Regions from separate parts of the Homo sapiens genome. Here all the other regions are linked to region 1. Evidence: promoter capture Hi-C in human tissues and cell types (Jung and others, 2019). All regions are on one chromosome and are shown on one strand. The core of a region is centred on a gene start or on the middle of the fragment in contact, and the rest is flanking DNA. Distances in the headings are between cores, read along the strand shown. Region 1 holds the start of PAQR5 (progestin and adipoQ receptor family member 5). Region 2 has its middle 3.9 kb from the start of LINC02896. Region 3 overlaps LOC124903515 (a long non-coding RNA gene).

Region 1 (3,917 bases), core at 1-2,500:
ACCTAGGGGGGTGGGGAGTGGGGTAAAAGAAACAAACCTCTGCTGAGTCAAGGGCACTGCAAGAATGCAGAAGCGACCATGCAGCTCTGGAAGGATGCGGTGGGAAACCCGCCACTCAGTGGTGGAGAAAAGCCCACCAGTTTCTCCAGCAAATGGCTGAGCTTTGTTGGGCCTCCTTGTCTTCTCATCTGCCCATGTGTTAATATCTACTCGCCATTGGTTTGTTAGGTTCAAATGAAATCAGGGATGTGTCCCTTTTTGGCTGCTAGCTCTTCTCAGATCCCCTGACCTCTCCCCATCTCTTCTCTATGGCTCTGCGTGGGAAGGGGCAGTTGTCACCCCCGACTCCCACTAAGCTGAGCCCTCCTCCCAACCTAAGCGGGAGGAAGCCGGTTCTGCTCACGGATAAGAGTTACCGGGCTCCTGAGTTCTTGTTCTGCTGGGCCGGGGTCCACCCCCTCTCCTGGGCTCATCCGACTAGGACTTGGGAAGTGCTAGGGGAGCCAGGAGATGCCCAGCTGGGGGCTGTGGCCGGGGGGAGGCCAATGACAGAGCAGGGGGAACTCCCTGTAGCTGGGCACCCACTTCAACAGGGCCGGGACGACCCCCGCAGGCAGTGGGCCGCCCCTCACCCACACGGTCCTGCTCAGCCCAGGCTCACATCTGGGCTCAGGAGGCGGGAAGCACAGGTGTAAAGAAATCGCCAACTGTGCAGCCCCAATCCAAGGGTTTTATTAAAGTGGGGGCGGCGGGAGGGGGGCGGTGGAGGAAGGATAAGCGGCGCAAACGCCCTGGAGAGTGAGAGAAAAGGTGCGAGAAGGCAACAGCTCCCCTCACCGCCCTCGATTGCAGCAGAGAGCCTTCTGCACGGCGGCGGCCGCCCCACCTTCACACCGGCCCCGCGTGCGGTGAAAGTGGCCGAGCCGCGCCGCCGCCGGATCAGGGCCGCCCCGGCACAAACTTTCCCAGACCCGCCCTCGGAGCGGCCACCCAGGCTCAACGGGCTCCACGGGCGCAGGGCGGCTGGGGCTGCCGCGGAGGGCGGGTGCGCGTGGACCGGGAGGTGGGGAGGCGGCGCGCGGCGGGGAGTCCCGCCCCGGGTTACCTGGGTTCCAAGGGTCTCGGGAGTCCAGTGGACAGGGCGCGGGGACAGCACAGGCAGGCCGGAGACCAGACACTCCTCCCGGGCTGCGGCGACCCCGGACTCGCGGGCCCTGCACCTGGCCCTGCGGGTCGCCGCGCCTACCCATGCCGGTCCCCGCCCGTCCCCTCCCGCGCGGGGCGGGGCGGCCCCGGGGGAGGAGCCGAGGGCCGTGGGCACCACCCCCTGAGCCAGGCCTGCGCCTCATCACGTGCCACCGACCCTGGGCTCTGTGACTTCCAAAGACTCGCCACCCCATTCCACAGCCTGAGGTGCCACCAAAGCCATAAGCCCAGGGGAGTCTCTCACACCCCATTCTCCTAGGGCCCATGTACCCCACGCCCACCTCCACCCCAGGAGCCGAAGGCCGGCAGGGAGCCTGGAGAGCCTCCTTGATGGGAGAACTGCGGAGCTTGCCCCTCGGAAAAGTGCATGGGGTGGAGAACAGGGAAGGAGAAAAAAACAACAACTGGGTACTCGCAGCCCCACCGCGGTGTCCGCTTCGCCGGTGGGAGAGGATCCTCGCCGCCCTGAATCCTTGAAGTGAGTTCCACCCCTGTCTCTTGGAGTGCTCAGGGTGGCGGGCCCTTTGCCAGCCCTCACCCTTTCCCCAGGGATCCTGTCCCAGGTCACAGGCTCCTAGACTGGAAGGCGCTGGGCCTGGACCTCTGCCACTCAGTGGACACAGCTATAAGAGATGAAGGGACACAGAGGACAAAGAAGAAACATTTGGCTTCAGGGAACCAGACTCTGTGTCTCCTCCCAGGTGCTGAAGGAACAGGTTGCAGCTACCTGGTGCCCCCACCCCGACCCTGCCAGAGAAAGGTTGGAACATCCACACCTGTGGACCGAAGTCCCCCACCAGGCTCTTTCCTCCCACCCTTCAGCCCCAGGCTCTCTGAGCTCCTGCTCCTCCCTGCCTTGCCTTGTTTGCTGAGGGCACACACAGTGGAGAGAGCACAGGACTGGGAGTCCAGAGACCTGGGCTCTAGTCTACTCTGTGACTCGGGTCAAGTCTCTGGCCCTTTGTGGGCCCAAGTTGCCCCATTTGCAGTGAATAGGTTGCAGTCAATTATCTCCGGCCATTTTTACGGATCCTGAACCGTGGTCTTGGGCACCTTGCTTTATTAGGCTTTTTGGTGGCTGTGCATCTTGTAAGGGTGTGTATGCATGTGCGTGTGTGTGTGCGTGCGACATGCGCTTGTCCTCTCAGACCCAAGTTCTTAAAGGGAAAGAGACTGGGGCCTACACAGAGGCAGGCATGTATATTCCACAGACCAGAGTTTGACAAGAATGACTGGACACAAGAGTGGAGCCCAGTCCCAGCTCTATGCTGAATTCAGAGTAGCCTTGGACAAGACCCTCACCATCTACAAAATGGAGATTAATAATCCCTGCTTTGCCTTTCCAAGGCTAGTCGGGGGACTCAGTGAGATATTAGATATGAAGCTCTTTGAAGGGGAATAGCACAGGGATGTGTGCTTTTGATGTCTGGGCCAGTGATGGGTTTGGGGGAAGAATAGGGTGTGAAGCATTCTCTGGGAGGCAAAGGCTGGCACTGGACTGATTGGCCACCCTGCCAAAGCTGCAGCATGCACAGCACAGGCAGGCACCCCACCACCAGCAGCCAAGGTGAGCAGAGATGCCTGGTGCCCCACCTGGATTCCTGCCTGCTGTAGGTATCTGTGTGTGCACCTTGAAGAAACTAAAGAGGGAAGATAAAGAGGCTCCCAACCTAAATGGAGGTGGTCAGTGGATTACTGATGAATCGATCTGCATATCTTGGCCAAAATCACCCTCCTCTGCTCTTAGGGAGTTTAAAGTCTAACTGAATGATTGAACATGAACCCTTTGGAGAATGATGTGGAGCCAGGAGAGGGGATTGTGGATGGTGAGCACACAGGATGATCAGAGGAGGGGGAAGGGCAGGGAGGGGCCGGGGAGGGGGGTACTTAGACCACATGGAGATGCATTTAGAGTATTGTGTTCAACACTCCTATTTCATAGTGATGAAATGGAGGCCCAGAGAGGGAAAGTGACCTGCCCAAGGTCACACAGTCACAAGAAGTCAGTAGCAGAGCTAGAACTTGGACCCAGGACTTCAGGAATCTATGCTGGATTTGAGCCTCCTGTGCAGCCGAGGGAGACCTGAAGTGTGGGAAGGACTGGGATACGTACCAGTGGGCAGGAAGAAAGAGTGAGGCAAAGTGCAGAGGTGGGAACTTTGTACAGCAAGGGAAAGGAGCTGGAATCACAGGCAGGATCTGGAAGGAGGGAGCTGCCCAGACCTGGAAAGCCAGGCTGAGCACTGCAGACCACAGAGGGTTTCGAGCTGACACCAGTTGGGAAGATACAGGCGTGCGAGGGGCACACGCCCAAATGACCCAGTGAGACAGCAGGTGACATGACAGCAAGGCAGCAAGGAGACGGGGAAGAGCAGCTCCAGGAGTCAGGCAACCTCCAATCAAATGGCCTTGAGCAAGTTGTCTCTCTTCTCTGACCCTCAGTTTCTTTTTTGTGGAGTGAGAGATAATCATCTTTTTTTCCTTTCAGGGTTATTGTAGTGACCACAGAATGCATTTGGAAGTGCTCTGTAAACTGCAGAGTGCTAAGTAAATTTAATATTTGGAGTTGTGTTTTATTTTCCAAAGGGCTCAGTAAACATTTGTGGAACTGACTGATATTGGATTGGACACTCTCCTCATGGCAATGGGCAGAGGGACCACAAACGGAGGGGGGCAGGGATTGGGGTGGTCAGAGGGAGTCCTGGCAAGGG
Region 2 (3,924 bases), core at 1,363-3,862, 170 kb before region 1:
CTTGGCAGCCGCAGCGTATGAGTCAGACGCTGGGGCTCTGTGGTTGTCTGCAGTGACCCCATTAGCAGATCTCATCAGACTACGTACGACTCAAAGCAGAGCCTGCACTGGGGGAGGATTCAGGCACAAGATGTCGGAGCAAGACCGGAGAGAGTGGCTAATGTGGCTTATTCATTCATTTATTCAGCAAACATTTTTTAGGGCTCTTAGGCCCTGGGCTCAGGCCTGAGGCCCCAGTCTAGCTGAGGAGATGAGCGTGGAGACAGCGTCCCCTTACCTTAGGGATGAGAAGACTGACAACCACAGAGAGGAAGTGACTGTCCCAAGATCACAGAACCACACGGGGCACTTGGCAGCTGTGCCGCAGGTCTCCAGCATGCAGCAGGCCTATGCACATGGAAGGAGGCTCAGGAAGCGGCCGGCACAGACGTAGTCTCATCGAGAATTAACACAGGGAGCTTTCCAGAGACCTTTAGCAAAAGTGTTCAGATACTGAACCTAAAAAGTAAAAGGAGATCATTAGAATCTCTTATGGTGCCTATATTATTGTTATTTTTAACTCTCAAGGTGATTCTAACCAAAACAGAAAGGATGGCCCTTTCTGGAGCTCCTTCCCCAGCACAATGTCGGGCCTCAGAGCTCCCAGGATGTCTCCTTGTGTTTGCGTTAACGTTTCTCAGTGAGTGTCAATGGAGACTCGAGAATAAGTCAACACAGGTCCTCACAATAAATGCCAAGGCTTGTTAGCAGAGTAAACCGTGTGCTTAGCCCGTCTTAAAAGAATCTTTGCTGAGTAAACACAAGAAAGGTTTTACCTGAGAGTCAACAGAGCAAGGAGCTAATGGGCCCCGCCGGGCTGGAAGGTGACTCCACTGGCACCTGCCGCAGGGCCCAACAGGGGCCCTGGGAGGGGAGTCGGGATTGGCCATGTGGGAGCTGGAGCATCCTCAAAAGCCCTTCATGGCAACGTGAGGACACCAGGGGCCAGAGAGGTCAGGGGGCTTGTCGAAGGCCCCACAGCTTGTTGAAACAGAACTAAATCTCTCTTACCCAGCAGCCTCTGCTCGCCCAGGGAGCCCAGTCTCTTGGTGAGGAGGCAAAAACCCAGTCCACAGAAAGGAGGTCCTGGGAATCAATCCCATTTGCTCTGAAGTATGAAGAAACTGATGTCTTATCCTTCCCAGGGCAGTTTTGGTATTTAAAGAAGACTGCAGGGAAATGAAGCCCTAATGGTGGCATGTCTGAAATGACAGCAGAGGGAAAATATTTTGGGTCCGAATAGGGCTTCTAGCTTTTTCGGTCTCTGAATGTTCACACTGATTCAATATTATCCTTGGTGACAGTGGATAAAAAACAAGCCTCGTGGTGAAACCCCGTCTCTACTAAAACTACAAAAATCAGCCGGGTGTGGTGGTGCGCGCCTATAGTCCCAGCTACTCGGGAGGCTGAGGCAGGAGAATCGCTGGAACTCAGGAGGCGGAGGTTGTAGTGAGACGAGATCATGCCACTGCACTCCAGCCTGGGTGACAGAGAGACTCCATCTCCAAACAAACAAACAAACAAAAAACAAGCCTGAACTGCTTTCTGTCTTTTCACCACACCTCACAACTTCTTTGATGGCCTGATATGCATGAGGTTCTCATTTTCCCAAGTAAAGAAAAATTATGACCTGAAATCTTGGACCTATAAGCTTGTTAGTCTCAAAACCCAAGTACAACCACTAACTTAATATCTCATTTAACGTGCCACCAGAAAAAAACCTTCCAATATTCAATTTTTCATTTAATTTGTGAATTCCTTTCCTCTTTCTCAAAAGAATTTGAGTATAGATCAAAGTACAACGATGCAGTAAAGTCAATAAAAAAGCTGCCAAAATTTTTATTTTAAAAATCAGTACCAAGAAAAGGAGGAGGAGGTAAACACCTTATCCATTTGGGTTAATTTAATTACTGAGATTGGGCACCTGGTCTGGTACTGAATTTCTCAGCAGCTGAAGCAGAGAAGAGAGAGTGTGAAGTCACAGAGCTCTCGTTATCATACAGGAGGATGCAGACTAATGCCCCAGAGGACACAAACTTTCTCCTGCCCCTAAATTTTACAAGAATTTTTCACATGAGACCTTATTTAGGAGACCATAACAATATAAGAGCCTGCTCAAGTTTTCTGGCAAAAGCAGAAATGGTTTTCATGTGGCCTTTTCTTCCAACAACCTTTGAGGAAAACCAAGGGTGCACCAGATTGCACAGTGATTCAGTGACATCTTTCTTTGTTTTTAAACAAGAAATGAACTTGAGCATTTGCAGAGGCAAAGTGAAGCGTGCTAAGTAAATTACAAGGGAGGGAAGACCATATTAAAGTGCTCTTGGTTTCCTCTTGGCTGGGTCATGGGAGGGCACACAAACATGCTTTCCTTACTAAGGTGTGGACTGACTCACTCATCCTTCGGCCAAGCAGCCAGGCAGCTCTGACTGTGGAACTCACACCCTAGCCTAGAAGCACTCTAGCGTGAAGGGGTCAACCCCAGTAGCCCTTCCCAGGATTGGCCACTATGGGGCAACACTGAGCCAGCATCTGGAAAACAAAAATTCCTTTTGTCAGCAAAGCCATCCAGCATGTATGAAATTCTACCAACCCAATAATTCCATTAATTCTGAAAATCCAATATTTGACCTTCTCCATAAAGGGTGTAAAAATAAAACAGCCTTTCTAATTGTAGAAACTGTTTCTTTGATTTCCTTTTTATTTTATTTATTTTATTTTTTGAGACAGTCTCTCTCTGTCATCCAGGATAGAGTGCAATGGCGCAATCTTGGTTCATTCCAACCTCCAGCTCCAGGGTTCAAACAATTCTCATGCCTCAGCCTCCTGAGTAGCTGGGACTACAGGCACACGCCACCACACCCGGCTCATTTTTGTATTTTTAGTAGAGGTGGGTTTTTGCCATGTTGGCCAGGCTGGTCTCCAACTGCTGGCCTCAAGTGATCCACCTTCCTCGGCCTCCCAAAGGAGTGAGTCACCGTGCCCTGCCACTTTTTAACTTTTTAGCCACCAATTCATATGAGATAGCAAAGAAAAGCTCAACAGTTTTTGAACAGTAACTATGCTGTTTTATATGTGCCATCTCACTTAATTCTAAAAGAACTCTATGAGGTAGGTGTCAACATGATCCCCACTATGCATATGATGGAACTGAGGCACAGAGAGGTTAAATAACTCACTCAAAGTCACACAGCCCTATTTAGCGGCAATGGGATTTGAGCCAGCCCAGGTAGTCTGATATCAGAGCATTTAACCCTGTGTCCCAGAAGACTTACATGATCTCATAGCTAGAGGAAGCATCTAGTTCACTTCCTCCTGGAGCAACACTGTCTTCCATATCCCAGCCTCAGCCTAACACCTAGCAAAGCTTTTCCTTATTTTTCTTATTTTGACCTAAAACTGTCTCAAAACTGGTCAGAGTTCTTCCTTCTAGAACTACTTGGAAGTTGAGTCTCTCTTCCACATGAAACCCTCTCCAATTTTTAAAAAATCAAAACCAGTGTTTTTAATTTAGAAAAGTAATGTATGTTCATGGTCTTTAAAAATTCAAGCAATATAAAAAGGATAAACTGGAAAGTAAAAATATTTCTTCCACCCCATCCAATCCCTGTCCTCAGAAGTAACCACTATAATTACTCTTGAATCCTCCCAGAAGTTTTTTAATACTATAAAACATATGCACATTTTTTTTATTTTTTTACTCAAATAGGGTCATGTTATGCATACTGGTGGCAACTTACCTTTTTTCACTTAACAAGGTGTCCTGGATGTCTTTCCATAGCGGCATTCCTATACATAGCTACATGAAAACATTAACATTTATTCAACCTGCCTATCATCCATACTTTTTTTCTAATACAAGCAATACTTCAGTGAAATTGTACA
Region 3 (3,456 bases), core at 831-3,330, 230 kb after region 1:
TACAGGTCTTTTACGCCATAGCTCTCTTTCTAATAGCTGCAAATTCCAAACTGTGGATTTCTCATGGATTATTTAACCTCCCATTATTTACATTTCTGGTGTTTCTTTTTTTAAATTTTTTATTTTCTTTCTCTTTTTTGTCATTACAAACAGGAAGCAATGATTATTGTATTAGTTATTTACTGCTGCCTAACACAATACTCCAAAAAGTAGTGGCTTAAAAGTATAATAAATATTTATAATCACTCACATTTTTTGCCAGTCAGGAATTCACAGCTTCTTGGGTGGGTGGTTTCTGGCTCAGTGTTTTGCATGGGCTTGCAGTCAAGATGTTGACTGAGGCGTCAGTCAAATGAGGCTTGACTAGGCCTGCAGGATCTATTTGCTCTCAGAGCTGGCAAGTGGATGTGGGCTGTTGGTGGCAGCCCTTAGTTTCTCACCCATGTGGGTCTCTCCACAAGGCTAATTGAGTGTCCTCACAACATGGTGGCTGTTTCCATCATAGCCAGTCATTCGAGAGAGCAAAGTAGAAGCATAGGGCCTTTTATGACCTAGCCTCCGAAGTCACACATTGTCACTTTGGCCACATTCTATTCATTAGGAGTAAGTCATTAAGTGTAGCCCTTTTGTGAAGGGAAGGGTATCAAAGAATTTGTGAACATATTTTAAAACCACTAGTATTACCCTTATACATAATCTTTGTGTAGTTGTGTGACTATTTCCTTAGAATACATTTCTAGAACTGGAATTGCTGGGTCTAGCAATATATGCACTTTTAACTTTGATAATTCCTCCTGTTTGTATTAGAAACTGTTCACTGTCCCCCTACTATCCATTTTCTCTTTTCTTCCTTTTAGCAATGAATCTCCTGAGTTTCAGGTGGGTATGAGTTGAGAATATATTTTCCACCCCCCTTGCTACTACATGGGGACGTGTAACTAAGTTATGACTGATGAGAAGCATTGTGTGCAATTTCTGAATCAGGTCCTTAAAATACGCTGTTTGTTGTACTTCTGCTTTCCCCAGGGAGAAATCTATTCAGAGAACAGATGTGGTAGTGGGAGTCAGCTTCCAGCAGGTGATGCAGGTAACACCCCTGGGGATGGTGGTACAATGTACAGAAAGAACCTGTGTCCTTGTATAACCTTGTGGAGCCGAGCCAGCCTTCTTTCCAGGACTTTCTACTAGCTTAGACTTTTGTATGAGAAAAAAATAAAATAAAGCTTTTATCTTGTTTCAGCCACTGTTACTTACTGATGATTTGCCTCCTCGAAAGCCTCCCCAACAATGTATGAGTATCCATTTCCTCCATCCTTGCCCACACTAGATATTATCAATCTTCAAAAAGCTATCAATCTGATGCCCCCCTAACTTATGACTTCATAATCTCCTTCACGTGCTATTGCTAGGGGCAGGGTGAAGGATATTGATATAAAATTCAAGAAAAAAACCTACCACAATCATATTAATAGAAAACACAAAGATATAATCTTGCTTTTGAGAAAGAAACTGCAATTTCAAAAGGACTCATACATCCCCCCATAGACTCTGCATGGATGCTGTGCCTTCCCTCAAAGGCATTACAGACTAACTGGGAAAAGGTATCTGGACATAGAAAACTAGCAGTACAGAGTGGAACAGTCTGGCTGGCTAATTCCTGGTACTGACCCAGGGAGATTGAGAAGGGAGCTGTGATGGAGGACATTTAGCCTCCCAAAGTCAGTGGTTCATGAATTTCGTATGCTATTCGGGTGAGAAGCAGGGAGAACGGAGTGGACTATCTGGGAGAAAGTTGTGGCAAATGCTAAGGGTACAGGCTCTGGAGTTAGACTGTCTACATTCATGTCCCATCCCTGCCACTTCACTCTGTTGGCACATACTTACTGAGTGCCTTCTGCAAGCAAGATACTATTGGTGAGGCTGGGCATTCCACGAGAAACTCTGCTGTAACTGGATCTTCCTTTCAGAGTGCTGAGACAGATGACGACAGGCTGGGCTTCAGTTCCCTCACCTGGAGAGTGATGAGAACACCAGCGCAAAATTCCAGGGCCATTGGGAAGATGGAATGAAATAGTACATGTAATGGCTCGCATCCATAGTGCCTGGAACATAACAAATGCTCGTAAAGGTAGGTGTTATCATTAAGAAAAGCCATGAAGGAGAAAGTCCCTAGAGCCCCCAAGGTTCCTTTCTGTGCCTTCACTGGTGACTCCCATAAACTTTGTTTTAATGCCCCCGATATAGTGTGGATATTTCTCCCCTCCAAATCTCATGTTGAAGTGTGATCCCAGTGTTGGAGGCGGGGGCTGGTGAGAAGTGTTAGGTCACGGGAGTGGGTCCCTCATAAATGGCTTGGTGCCCTCCCTGTGGTAATGAGTGAGTTTTTGCTCTATTAGTTAGAGTGAGATCTGATTGTATAAAAGAGCCTGGCACCTCTTCCTCCCTCTCTTGCTCCCTCTCCTGCCATGTGACCTGCCTACTCCCCCTTTGCCTTCTGCCATGAGTAAAAGCTTCCTGAGGCCTCACCAGAAGCCGAGCAGATGCCAGTGTCATGCTATCCAGCCTGCAGAACCATGAGCCAAATAAACCTCTTTTCTTTATAAACTACCCAGTCTCAGGTATTCCTTTATAGCAATGCAAAATGGACTAATACAACCCCCCCATAGAAAAACTCCTGCTTTCATAAAAGATATCAGTTCTTTCTCACTGAGGTGAAAATGATTGATGTAGTTTGATGCACTACTTCTGTTGCATTTACACTTTAGTGGAGAACATACTGTGTTTGGTTAAATCACAGGGACGAAAGTCTAATTATGAAATTTCAGGCATCAGCAAAGCTAAACCACAGGCATTTGGGCCAATTGAGGGTGCTTCACTGATGCTGCTGAAATAAACATTTTTAGGGAGCTGGCCCAGTCTTCTCTTCCCTTCCCTTCCCTTCCCTCTCTTCCAGTCCCTTCTTATCTCTCCTCTTCTGTCTCTGCTCCCCTGCCTCCCTTTTCTTTCTCTCCCTCCTCTTCCTCCTCTCCTCTGTCTCCTCTCTGTCTTTCCCTTGCTTAAATGGCTATCTAAGTCCCTGATGATTCAATGTGATTACGTTTCCATAGGCAGGTGTGTGTCTTGTTTAGTCACATTAAAAATAAATCACTTGGCCACACGCAGTCGATGCATCAATCTGTTACTTTCCTCTGCTTTCCAGGAACAGATTGCTCAAAAATCAGACGACTGTTGGGTGAAATGCGAGTGGGGAAAGGAGTGAGATGAAGGGAACAGAGCCCTTCCAAACTCGCCCTTCAGCCTTCCTACCCAATCAGAAAGGAAATCAGTCATGCCCACAATCCTGCCAATAACACAGTGTAGCGGCTGCATTCTTTGGACCAATGACAGTGAGCTGTAGAAGAAATCTCATTTGGAGAAGAGATGGGGGCTTGTGTTTACTGAACATCTACTACGAAT

What was found. Contacts are between HindIII fragments. The study calls those that stand out against the background at their distance.
Region 2: a contact is called between a fragment that was not itself captured here and the fragment with the promoter of PAQR5 in region 1, in 1 of the 25 tissues and cell types used here (bladder).
Region 3: a contact is called between a fragment that was not itself captured here and the fragment with the promoter of PAQR5 in region 1, in 6 of the 25 tissues and cell types used here (heart left ventricle, hippocampus, mesendoderm cells and 3 more).

Annotation. Positions count from the first base shown.
Region 1 is chr15:69,296,245-69,300,161 of GRCh38, reverse strand. PAQR5 (progestin and adipoQ receptor family member 5) reads right to left here and starts at 1,250. Exons shown (of 9, transcript NM_017705.4): 1 at 1,106-1,250. It overlaps PAQR5-DT (PAQR5 divergent transcript), which reads left to right and starts at 1,399. Exons shown (of 3, transcript NR_184010.1): 1 at 1,399-1,684. The HindIII fragment of the contact is 6,076 bases long and covers 1-3,917 here.
Region 2 is chr15:69,464,747-69,468,670 of GRCh38, reverse strand. No RefSeq gene overlaps it. Among named protein-coding and RNA genes, the nearest start is that of LINC02896, 3.9 kb to the right of the region's middle. RefSeq lists an enhancer at 129-328. The HindIII fragment of the contact is 4,515 bases long and covers 355-3,924 here.
Region 3 is chr15:69,069,985-69,073,440 of GRCh38, reverse strand. It overlaps LOC124903515 (a long non-coding RNA gene), which reads left to right. Exons shown (of 2, transcript XR_007064692.1): 1 at 1-2,128; 2 at 3,200-3,456. Among named protein-coding and RNA genes, the nearest start is that of EWSAT1, 9.1 kb to the left of the region's middle. The HindIII fragment of the contact is 5,134 bases long and covers 1-3,456 here.